4 separate regions of the Homo sapiens genome follow, and regions 1, 3 and 4 are each linked to region 2. Evidence: promoter capture Hi-C in 16 types of primary human blood cells and fetal thymus (Javierre and others, 2016). All regions are on one chromosome and are shown on one strand. The core of a region is centred on a gene start or on the middle of the fragment in contact, and the rest is flanking DNA. Distances in the headings are between cores, read along the strand shown. Region 1 overlaps WDR7 (WD repeat domain 7). Region 2 holds the start of ONECUT2 (one cut homeobox 2). Region 3 overlaps WDR7 (WD repeat domain 7). Region 4 overlaps WDR7 (WD repeat domain 7).

Region 1 (2,769 bases), core at 143-2,642, 580 kb after region 2:
AATCGCTGTCTTTCACCATGCACAATTTACACATGGCTTTATCAATAGCCTTAGTGCTGAATACAGAACACACTCTATTTGGCTTTCAGTCAATTAAGCCTTAAGCTGTCAGCAAACAAGACTTTTAAGTTAATTTTGAATCACCACGAATCAAGTTGAAGGTTGTGAAAGGGCGGCTCACACGCCGGCATGAAAAAAGGCAGTTTAATTGCCTCTGAATAGCTATTATATGCTGCAATTGGCCTATTGAATCTTAGATGATCTATTTATTTATCAAAGTGCAACCATCAAGGATTAGAAAAAGAATATAAACTGTACTTTCGCTGTTTCACGTAATTGATGTATTTTACAAAAGTATTTAAAAATTCATATTTTTAAAGCAGATTTTTTAATGTAAAACATTTGTGAAATAGAAAGCAAAACAGTTAACATAGAAATAGAGCAATTGTATTTCTAGAAAAACAAAGATATATTTTTTAAAAGATACACTTTTTACTATGTAATATTTTCATGTATTATATGATACAAACCAATGGTTTAGAACACATGTACTCCTTCATAAATATTTATATTGTAAATGTTCATGAAAAAAAAAGAGGCAGAAAAAGAATTATAAAATTGAGCTAAATCAGATTTTAAAACAACTTAATTTAACATTCCTTAGATTAACTGCATCATTAATTGTGTGAAGAAAAAGAACACCAAATACATCATTTTAATAAAGACATTTTTTTAACTAAGATTAAGGCTTAAGAAAATAGCATAATCAAATTAAAAGGATTATTATATTCCTAAACTGCATGATACTTATTTTCAAGAAAGACTGTGGTTGGTCACAATCCTAATGAGTTTTTTCCTGAAATTATTTTTTTCAATTGCATGAGATCTGGTTTATTATTATAGGGTTACTCATGAGTGCTGGATGTGTATATTGATTTTTTTATTAGAAGAGGGCACTGAAGCATTAGGTCAGTTGCGGGGAGGGAATGCTCAGATTTGTAAACAGATGTAAACATAGATCAAATTTAAGGATGGTAAAACTGAACCATTTTGCTTTAGCTGGGATGAGCTATGGTTCTTTTTTCACATTTTTACAAGTCAGTCTTTCAAGAGTAAATGTATTGAAGCATGCACTCATGATTACATAGGGAAATCATATGGAGATTAATGGCTATAAAGTATTAATGGTTATAAGAATTTAGATAGAATACGAGTTAATTTTAGTGTTCCCTCAAGAACAGTCACATATTCTTGAAAGCATGGGCCCATCATTCTGTGCTTCCAGTCAGCAGAGGCGATGGGCTTGGGAATCAGTACTGACTACCATCATTCCAGGAATTACCACACATTCGGGGGCTGAAATTCAATGAAAGAGTATGGAAACCCTTTCTCCTTCCCTCTTTTCTCATCCATTATTATAAAATACTTTTCTTGCATTTATATTCTCAAAATATCTTAGAATCATTTACTAGTTATACCCCACAAAAATCAATGCTACTAAAACCATAAAGATAAAGACATTAAAGGAGCGAATGCCTATATGACTTCCAAGGGAAACACAGGAAGGAAGCAGATGAAGTGTGAAGAGCCGGACTACCCGGGATAACACAAAGTAGAAGCCATATGAAGAAGGGATATTCTTCCTCATCATTACTAAGACGTGTTAACAAAAGACCTAAGTTCAATGGTCACAAATGTTCACTGCACATTTCATTTTATATTTGTGTATTTTATATATTTATACAAGACACAAGGTGTTCGAAATTATTTCGTTTTACTCATACAAACATCCATTTATTCAAAATGGGTGGGAAGGCATACTAGGGACTAATAACAGGGTTTCTGCCTTTTTGTACCTTACATTCAGGGGAGGAAGGCGAACACATAGACATACAAATTCCAAAGTATAATAATACTAAGAGCAAGCAAGAGAGTGACATAGAAAATAAGGCAGAAAACAATCAATTTTAGAAAGAAATCTCAAGGATAAAGAAGAACCTGAGGCACGGGTTGATAAGCTGCCCCAGTCTTGTGGCTAGGGAGTGGTGGGGCCAGGAGGCAAACCAGGCAGACCACCTCTAAAGCCAATGCTTTTACCTACTACCCTAAAGAAACAATAAAAATTAGGTATACTAAGGTGTAATAACCCTTTCCTCAAAGATATCAGAGCTTAATAGGAAAGTAAAGATAAATTAACAAATAACTGAAAACCAAGGAAGAAAGCAATACTTATCAATAAGCAAGGTCAACAACAATAAGAAAGTCATAGATATTCAGAGGAAGTTGACCTCAGTAGACAAAGGGGAGGACCTCACAACAGAAGTGTCACCCCAGAGAGGTCCCTAAATCCATTCAGATTTGACAAGAAGAAATAAGGGTGCACCTAAAGAATAAACCACAGCAGAAGTTGAATCCTATCCTGACCACCTCCCCTCATGGCCACCGTCTTCTTCATCTTTTGCTCTTCTCTAGTCTTTTGGCATAGCATCTACCATCTTCTAATATATTATAAAAAATACACTAATTTATTCTACTTACTGCCCCTCAACCCCTTCCCCCTGCAAGAAGGCAGGGGTTGAGACGACTTCTGTCATTTTGCTTGCAGATGTTGCTCAAGGGTTTAGAACAATGCCTGGCATGTAGGTGCTTAATAAATATTTGAATATTTGATGCTAAATAAATATTTGTTGAATTAATGAATCAAGCCTAGAAGCAGAACAACTCCAATTATACCTGGGAAAGAAAAACCAGTTTAATTTGGCCCAAGAT
Region 2 (3,047 bases), core at 252-2,751:
CTCCCTGCCAGATTTGAGTTTACTCCACGGTTTTGGATTCCGGAGCAGGTCGGAGAGAGTCCCCTGAGACCGGCACAGCACCCTCTGCGCAAAGATCGCCTGGGGGATACTGTAGCGCTTCAGCTCCGCTGTGATGCGCTGGGCCACCTCTTTGGTGTTGATTTCTTCCAGCTGGCCCGACGTGGCCACCTGCGAGCCCGATGAGGACGAGGGTGGCCGCTCGCGACTGGGTGCCAGCACCGGCCCGTGAGACTGAGTGTGGCCCGGGTGGTGCAGGCCGTTCAGGTGCGACATCATGGCCGCAGGTGGGGTGCCCAGGCCGCGGGACAGGTGTTGCTCACCGCGGGTCAGCATGGCAGTGTGGTGCGCGTCGAAGTTGGGGCTGAGCATTTTGTCGTGGCCCGGCGGACCGTAGTTGGGCAGACTCTGCTGCGCGTTGTGGAGGCCGCCTAGCCCGTTGCCCAGCGGCGTGGCGGCCAGCGGGGACAGGCTCTGGCTCATGCCGGGCATCTCCTTGTAGGGACTGTAGAGGTTGTTCATGGCCGGGAGCCCGCGCTCGTCGCGCATGAGGGTGAAGCTGCCGCTGACGTTGCCGGACAGGCGCTGGTGGTGGTGGTGGTGGTGGTGGTGCGGATGGTGGTGCGGGTGAGGGTGGTGGAACTTGTCAGACACGGTGGAGATGGGTGGCAGCGGCTGGAGCGGTGTCAGCGTGGTGTAGGTGTTGCTCATGCCCATGCCAGGCGGAGACGAGTCGCAGGACATGCTCATGGCGTGGTGCAGCGGGATGGAGAGCTCGGGCCGGTAGTCGCCGCCGTCCAGGATCGAGGCCATGCTGGTGACCATGGCCGAGCGCGACGCCGCCGCTGCCGCCGCTGCCGCCGTGCCCAGCTCCTGGTGCGCGGTTGGAGGCGGCGGAGGGCCCCGCAGCGAGCCAGCGGCGCCGCGGCCCGCGTGGTGGGGGCTGGGGCTGGCCAGCAGCTCCTGCTCATGGCCCGGGCCCCCGCCGCCGCCCCCGCCGCCCCCGCCGCCGCCCCCGCCACTGCCGCCGCCGGCCGGCCCGTGCAAAGTGCCCAGACTTTCCATTGTCAGCTCCGGGTTCATGGCGCAGCCTTCTAGGTCTTTGGTGAGGCATCGATAGGCGGTGTAGGCAGCCTTCATTCAGTCCATCAGGGCCCGGGGGCGGCGGGGGCGGCGGGGGCGGCCGGCGGGCGGGCAAGGCGCGCGTGGCGGGGCTCGGCTGCGGGAGTGGGGGCGGGCGCGGGAGTGAGTGGAGAGGAGTGCGCGTGCGGGTGTGCGCCCCGGGCTGCGGGCGGGCTCGCCCGGGGTGGGGGCGGGGTGGGGGCGGACGGGGCGTGCGTGCGGGAGAGGGGAGGGGACGGGGAGGGAGGGAGGGATCACCGGGCCCCGCCGCTCGGGCCGGCTCGCAGCCTCGCCATGTCCGAGCCCGCTCCGGCGCCGACGTCTTCTGTTTGGGTGAGCGGGAGCTGTCCAGAAGGGCTCTGCCGCTCGCCGGGGCAGCCAACCTACCCTCCCGGACCTGGGGCGGGGCCACGCCCGACGGGCGCCAAGCGCAACCACTCCGAGGCCGCAGCTGCCCCGGGAGGCGGGCCTTCCACGGGAAGCTACCAGTGGCTGTGGAGGGGGCGGGGCCGCACTTTTCAGGTTTGGCTGACGGCTCGGTGCCTTTTTTACCTCCTTTGCTACTGGAATCAAACGTCAAGGAGAGGGAGGGAGGAGAAGGTGGGGGGGTCGCTGGGGAGAGGGAGGCTGGAGTGCGAGCGAGCGAGAGAGATTCGGTGAAAGATGCCGTGCTGTGTCCCCCCTGAGCAGCTGCGATCTGGGGGAAGGGGCATTGCTTCAATCGCCTTCGCCTCACCCCAAAGCTTTCCTGGAGGCGAGTAAGCCGGGAGCAAAAGACTCCGCTATGTGCCAGTATAGACAAACACTCGTCACTAACAAGCCACTTACCGAGAGTCCCTAGCTGGGAGCCAATAGTTTAGCCTTTTAAAATGCAGGCGCTAATGTATTCTAATGCATGGTAAATTCCCGAGGCCGGGACATGCATAATCTACGCGGTCAGAGCAACTGTAGTGCCCTCGTCGCCAGCGAGCTGCGGCCGGCCGGCGGCCCACGGGCGGCGCGGGCAGCAGTAATGCATGCAAAGTTAACACAATAACATCATTTAATTACCCGGTGAGCCCATAAATCTCAGTTATGAGGCTTCCGAAGAGCCCTGCTAGATTGCAAAACAAAACTAGAATTCCGGGAGCTGCCGTTTCAAGGTGACCAAGTGCTTTCTGCATCAGCGACTTGGAAAGAAGTGGGGAGAGTGTAGAACCGGTGAGGTGGAGGTGAGGAGGGTCGCTGGTGTCCCAAGTGAGCAAACTTCTCCTGGGGGCAGAGAGTAAGCAAACCAGCTGAGACGGCAACCACGGACCTTTCTCCTAACACGAGACACACACACGCGCACACACACACACACACACACACACACACACTCCCGCTTCTCTCAAATCCCGGGAGAGAAACGGCGGTGGGCAGACGACAAGGAATCCTGGCTGACACCTGCATATTCAAACCTTGTTTCTGAAAAGACCAGCGCCCCGGCCAGCCTGAGAACGCTCACAAGCCAAGGCTTTAAAAACCGCACCTACGTCTTCCTAGAATTTCCGTTGTTTGGCAACCCCAGGTCTGGAGGTGGGAGTGGAACTGGGGGACAGAGAGTTGGAGATTTCTGCAGTCCGAGTCGGGGTGGAGGGGTAGTTGAAGACAGAGAGGCCAACACCCGGCATAAAGCCTTAAACGTAACAAGATTCTTCCAAAGCAGGTTGCGCTCTGTTTGCCTCCGAAGATTCAAGCTAGCTGAGGTTGCGCAGATGTTGCCTTTGTTTAAAGAGACAGTAATTAAGGACAGGGTGGACATAAGTTTGAGAAGCGTGACCTATTTTCTTTTGATCAGCTGTCAAAAGAAGAGCAGGGGGTCTCCTTAAGACAGCCCCCTTCAACCACTTCCAGCTGTTAGAGAAAACTTGATAAGAAAACAAGGG
Region 3 (2,974 bases), core at 380-2,879, 590 kb after region 2:
AATTCTATTACAAATCTGTGGAAAAGATATTTAAAATACAAATACATTTACATAGATCTTATTATTTCCTAAAAAATAACATATTATAGAAAAATTAAAAAATACTCAAAATACCAAAAATAAAGTAAGTTTTATGCATAGAAACACTACAGAGCTTTGCAACTTTTCATATACAACCAAGTAAGGTATTATTAAAAGAGAAAATCTTTTGGTTAGTAAAGATCCCTTTTTGTAAATACTTAACATAACTGCATAGAGTGGGACATATCAGATCAATTCATTCCAACCAAATCATTGTATCTATACAAGAGGAAAATATACAGTAGCCCCTGGTTATCCATAGGAGATATATTCCAAGTACCCCAGTGGATACTTGAAACCTCAGATAGCACCAAATCCTATATATGTTTTTTCCCTATACATACATATGATAAAGTTTAACTTATAAATTAGGCACAGAATGGCATTAACAATAACTAATGATAAAATACTACAATTATAATATACTGTAATAATTATATGAATGTGGTCTCTCTCTCTAAATATCTTACTGTATTGTACCATGAGTAACTGAAACTGCAGATAAGGAGGAACTACTATACCAGGAAAGAGTCTTTAAATCAATATAACTAGCAGGACAATTTTAAGCCTTGCTAGTTCCTCAGTTCTCATTATCTCTACCAACCTATGTGTGCATATTTCCCCTCTGATAAATCATTCATTTCTAGTGAACAGTAGCCTTTAGCCTTGTAAGGCCTTGTTTGAACCTTGTTGAATGTAAGGTTTCTCTATGGCTGCAGAGCGGTAGCTCTTTATTCTCTTACCATAAGCATTTAAAATTTAAAGCAATGAATTAAAAGCTTAAGCTCAAAAGTATAGCCCAAAATTATATTCTCTAAACTACATGTGAAAAGAATAACAATTTTATTTCAATTTAGAGTCTAATCTTTTTGTGACTGTCCTTAGTAGGGTGTAACACAATAAACACCATGGATCATTTTAAAAGCCACTCTCATATAAATGAAGTTGAGAAATTGTATACCAATGAGGAAAAATTTATTCTAATAATAGGACACTGAACATAAGCATCAGAAATGATGTATCTATTTTTTAAAAAGTTAAAGTAATGGTCAATAATTATTATAATGTTCTTTTGCCTCAGCATCACTAATCATTAGGGAAATTCAAATCAAAATCACAATGAGATACCTATATAACTTCACACTTCACGCTCATTAGGATTGCTATTATTTAAAAAAAAAAAAATAGATTGAGTGTGGTGGCTCATGCCTGTAATCCTAGCACTTTGGGAGGACGAGGCAGGCAGATCACAAGGTCAAGATTTCGAGACCAGCCTGACCAACATGGTGAAGCCCCATCTCTACTAAAAATACAAAAATTAGCCAGGCGTGGTGGTGTATGCCTATAATCCCAGCTACTCAGGAGGCTGAGGCAGGACAATTGCTTGAACCTGGGAGGCAGACGTTGCAGTGAACCAAGATTGTACCACTGCACTCCAACCTGGGCAACACAGCGAGACTCCATCTCAAAAAACAAAAAAAAAAAAAAAAGAAAGAAAAAAGAAAATATCGAGTGTTGATGAGGATGTGGAGAAACTGAGACTATAATGCACCGCTAGTAGGAATGTAAAATGGTACAGCCACTGTAGAAAACAGTATGACAGTTCCTCAAAATATTAAAGATAGAATGACCATGTATTACAACAAATCCAATCCTGTGTACCTAAAATAACTGAAAGCAGGGACTTGAACAGATAGTTCTATATCAATATTCATAGCAGCATTATTCACAGTCGCCAAAAGATAGAAGAAACCCAAGTGTCTGTAGAATGACAGATCCACTCTGTTGAATGGATCAACACAATTGTAAGCTCCTGACACAAGCTCTAACATGGATAAACCTTAAAGCCACTATGCTAAGTGAAATAAGCCAGACACTTATTTGATTCCACTTATATGAACTACCTACATTAGCCAAATTCATAGAGACAGAAAGCAGAACAGTGGTTGACAGAGGATGGAGGCAGGAAAGAATGGGAAGTTAGCATTCAATGGGTATAAGGTTTCACTTTGAGAAGATGAAAAAGTTTCGGAGAACGATTGGTGGTGATGGCTGAACAACAATGTGTACATACTTAACACCGCTGATTTGGCCACTTAAAAATAATTTAAATGGCACAATAAAGAAACTTTCACAGTTTAAAAAAGTGATCTAATGCCCAATTTTCAATAGCTAGACAGCTGAAAGAGGCAAATATTCATTTAATTAACATCATTAATGGATTTTTGTAAGAAAGGGGACTTTCAACATCAAAATTCATTTACTTCTTTTCATCTGTTCAGAGGTAACGGGATGAATCACCAGAATCAAAGCTTCCAGCTGCTTATAGCACTAGTTTAAAATTAATAGTCTTACAGCAACAACATCAAATGCCAAAAAAAAAGAGAAGCAATAGGCAGCAGGTTAATTCTTTTTTGGTGTAAAATGTCTGTAATTTTCTAGTAGCACATAAATGTGTCACTGTTTTGGTCTGCAATGTCTCTTCTCTCCCCAAAATTCTGACAGTATGGCTCTAAAGCTAAAAGTATATAACCAAATTAAAAGCTATCAAAAATCTTCAAATAAAGTTTTTCTAAAACGTTAAAATACTTCCACGGTAATTTAGTAGTTTCCTATGTGCATTTGCCATTGATCACTGTGTGTGTGTGTGTAAGAGAGAAAACATGAATAAAACACTAAAAGGATGTTATATTTAGCATACTTCAATGGGAATTTTGAATAGGCTATACCGAAGTACTACGAATCCTTTACTTACAGTCTCCTATACAATAGACTGTCAAGTGCTTAGAATCAGGGAACAACCTTATACCTTTCTGTTTACTGTAATATCAAACCTTGCAACATGGCGTCAGTCCTTGCTATTGTTTGAAATGTACTTAATCCCCAATGCAAC
Region 4 (2,777 bases), core at 250-2,749, 550 kb after region 2:
CAGCATTTATTTTCACTCTCCTTGCAGGAAAATATCAAATACAAAAGGATGGTGTTGAGAAATTACACAAAATATGTTAGACTTAATCAGTGGTCTTCAAAATAGGTAACCCTCTTCAAACAGGAGTATATTAAAAGTTTCAAGGAATAGGTAGTTTTAGAAGCACAAACAGTTTAAGACCTAGGTATTTTAAAGGAATTGATTTCTGGGTGCTAAATTTGCTAATGAACTCCTTCCCTAAAACTGTGAGGGTAGAAATTTCCACTTCAAAGAAAATAATAAAGGATTTAAGATTTCTGATTTTTAATGGGAAGTTTGTTCAGGTATTTATTAAAAATTGATGATGATGGATATGAAATAGTTAAATATTCTACTGAATATATTAGAAAGAGCCATAAGTTTTATTTTTAAACATCAATATTCACAATCTCCTCAAGATACTGTGAAAATATATTTTGCAATTAAAAAGTTGTAGCTGTCAACATAAAATGTGCAAAGGATTAGACATTTCTTGACACTCTCAGGGAGTTATTGAGCAAAAAAGTTTGAAAGCCACCACACCAAATCATGTCAAAGCTTCATTAACCTCTAATAGTCTAATGCCAAACTTCTAAATAAGGACCTGCTCTACATATGTTAAGTCCTGGGCTGTCTGAAGTGACAGATAAGCTAGACTAATTAAAGAGCCCTTTGTAGAAATGGTGAGATTTAAGCAAGGTTTTAGGAATGGATAGCAGGGATCTTGAAGAACTTGAGAAAAGATAAATAAGCCCGAGTGGGGAGGTAGGAGCCAGTAAGCATGTAGTTGTTGGCCGTAGAGGGAGAGTAATGTGCCCAGGTGGAGAAGGGAAACGGTTCTCAGGTCGCAAGACACTTGAGTTCAAGTTTAGGTTTTACTACTTTTTGGCTGAGTCACTTTGAAGAAGTCTTAAGTTCATTTTGAAGATCAAATGAGGGGAAAGACAGGAAAGAAAGTGTTTTTTAAATTGTAAAGTTATAGCCAGGTGCAGTGGCTCATGCCTGTAATCCTAGCACTTTGGGAGGCTGAGGTGGGTGGATCCTTTCTGGTCAGGAGTTTGAGGCCAGCCTGGCCAACATGGGGAAACCCCGTCTCTATGAAAAATACAAAAATTACCCAGTCATCGTGGCCTACACCTGTAATCCTGGCTACTTGGGAGGCTGAGGCAGGAGGTTGCAGTGAACCAAGATCATGCCACTGCACTCCAGCCTGGGTGACAGAGAGAGACTCTGTCTCAAAAAATAAAATAAAATAAATCAATAAATTGTAAAGTTACAGCACATATTAGTCATTAAGCCCTTTCCAACTGGGAGCCACTGAATAGCAGCAGTTTGCATAATGGTCAAAAGCATGAACTCTGGAACAACAGACTAGATGGAAACAAAAACTCCTTTCCCAGAGGTATGATCCTTGCCAGGTTAACTAAACCTCTCTATGCCCCACCAGCTTTATGCATAAAATCGAGATAAGAGGGATCCACTTTACAGGGTTATTATGAGGATGAAGTGAGGTAATGCATGTAAAGAGCTAAAAAAAAATAGTGCTCATAATAGTTGCATCATTATGGTTGGTGGTGGTATTGTTTAAATTTAAACGTTATTACTCTGATTCTCAAACTGAGATCAAGAGATTATCACTAATAAGTATTTGTTGAATGAAGTCTTTCAAAAAACAGTTATAGGAGGGGCAGCTAAGTCTATTGAAGGGCTTTTATAATAAAAGTCACTAACATGGCCCTCAGTTTTACAGCAAGAGTATGTGGCAATGGTCCAGTGAAGTTCACTGCTGTCATAAATAACAAAGTAACATGCATCTTTTTCTCTTGCTTAAAGGCCAAAAAAGCAAAAGGATCTATTGCATTTTGTTCTACAAGAATATTTTGTGATGTATTCAGTTGGACTATATTTGTTCCTTAAGAGGACACAATTTATTAGAAATAATTTTGCTATATGGTGCCACATGCCACTCTGACCTTACTGAAAGGAATTCTGACACTGAAGAACCAAAAGAGCTTATTTTAAAGCACCCTTACCTATTATTAACATACCAAGCACAGAACCAAAGAGAGTAGAATGACACAGCCCTTTGAATTTTGATTGTTATAGTCTATAGTCATTTAAAAACTGTTACTGGAATATTTTTTAAATTACAGGGTTAATTCATAATTCATCATGTATGCTCTTTTTCATAAACCCATGTATTATTTATATGTATTATCACATATACAAATTTATTAATATGCCCATTAATTTAACAAATATGTGTTGAGAATTTATTTATTGAAAGGAGAATGAATATATTTTCTTTTCAAAAGAAAAGACTGGTGTTCCACCCCAGTCCTGACTTTTCAAACCACATTCAGAACAAACTGCATAGTTTTCCAGAAATTATTTTAAAAGCTTTAACTTGAATCTAGCTTTCATAAATTCTGGCTAAAATCTTGACGAACAATGCAAAAATACAAAGGTCAGAAATGTGTTATTTTAAGAATAGCATTTAAAAGACGATGTTTTAACTTTTAAAAAGGAGTTCAGGTTACTGTAACTAACGGGAAATGTGCCAGATTGTACTGCTTTCTAACTTCACGCAAGCAATCTAAATGAGCTAAAACTCAGGATATAGTCAATGTTATGAGATTTTGCTGACAAATAATATGTATTCAGAAGCAACAGATCAGCATTAGAAGTTTTAAAACTTACAAGTATGTCTGGCCAGCGAGTAGTTGGATCCACCACTAGTCAACCCGAATCCCTCAGGA

The links. The method cuts DNA at HindIII sites, captures the fragments that hold promoters and counts their contacts. A CHiCAGO score of 5 or more calls a contact.
Region 1: a fragment that was not itself captured here is called in contact with the fragment with the promoter of ONECUT2 in region 2 in 2 of 17 cell types (M2 macrophages and megakaryocytes); the score reaches 6.0 in M2 macrophages.
Region 3: a fragment that was not itself captured here is called in contact with the fragment with the promoter of ONECUT2 in region 2 in 1 of 17 cell types (endothelial precursors); the score reaches 6.4 in endothelial precursors.
Region 4: a fragment that was not itself captured here is called in contact with the fragment with the promoter of ONECUT2 in region 2 in 1 of 17 cell types (endothelial precursors); the score reaches 7.6 in endothelial precursors.

Annotation. Positions count from the first base shown.
Region 1 is chr18:56,858,665-56,861,433 of GRCh38, reverse strand. All of the region lies in intron 20 of WDR7 (WD repeat domain 7), which reads right to left. Among named protein-coding and RNA genes, the nearest start is that of WDR7-OT1, 180 kb to the left of the region's middle. The HindIII fragment of the contact is 4,950 bases long and covers 1-2,769 here.
Region 2 is chr18:57,433,828-57,436,874 of GRCh38, reverse strand. It overlaps ONECUT2 (one cut homeobox 2), which reads right to left and starts at 1,501. Exons shown (of 2, transcript NM_004852.3): 1 at 1-1,501. The coding sequence starts at 1,158. RefSeq lists a silencer at 1,572-1,621 and enhancers at 1,615-2,194, 2,195-2,775. The HindIII fragment of the contact is 9,553 bases long and covers 1-1,885 here.
Region 3 is chr18:56,842,455-56,845,428 of GRCh38, reverse strand. All of the region lies in intron 20 of WDR7 (WD repeat domain 7), which reads right to left. Among named protein-coding and RNA genes, the nearest start is that of WDR7, 190 kb to the right of the region's middle. The HindIII fragment of the contact is 1,533 bases long and covers 863-2,395 here.
Region 4 is chr18:56,880,107-56,882,883 of GRCh38, reverse strand. WDR7 (WD repeat domain 7) reads right to left here. Exons shown (of 28, transcript NM_015285.3): 21 at 2,719-2,777. Among named protein-coding and RNA genes, the nearest start is that of WDR7-OT1, 160 kb to the left of the region's middle. The HindIII fragment of the contact is 1,842 bases long and covers 579-2,420 here.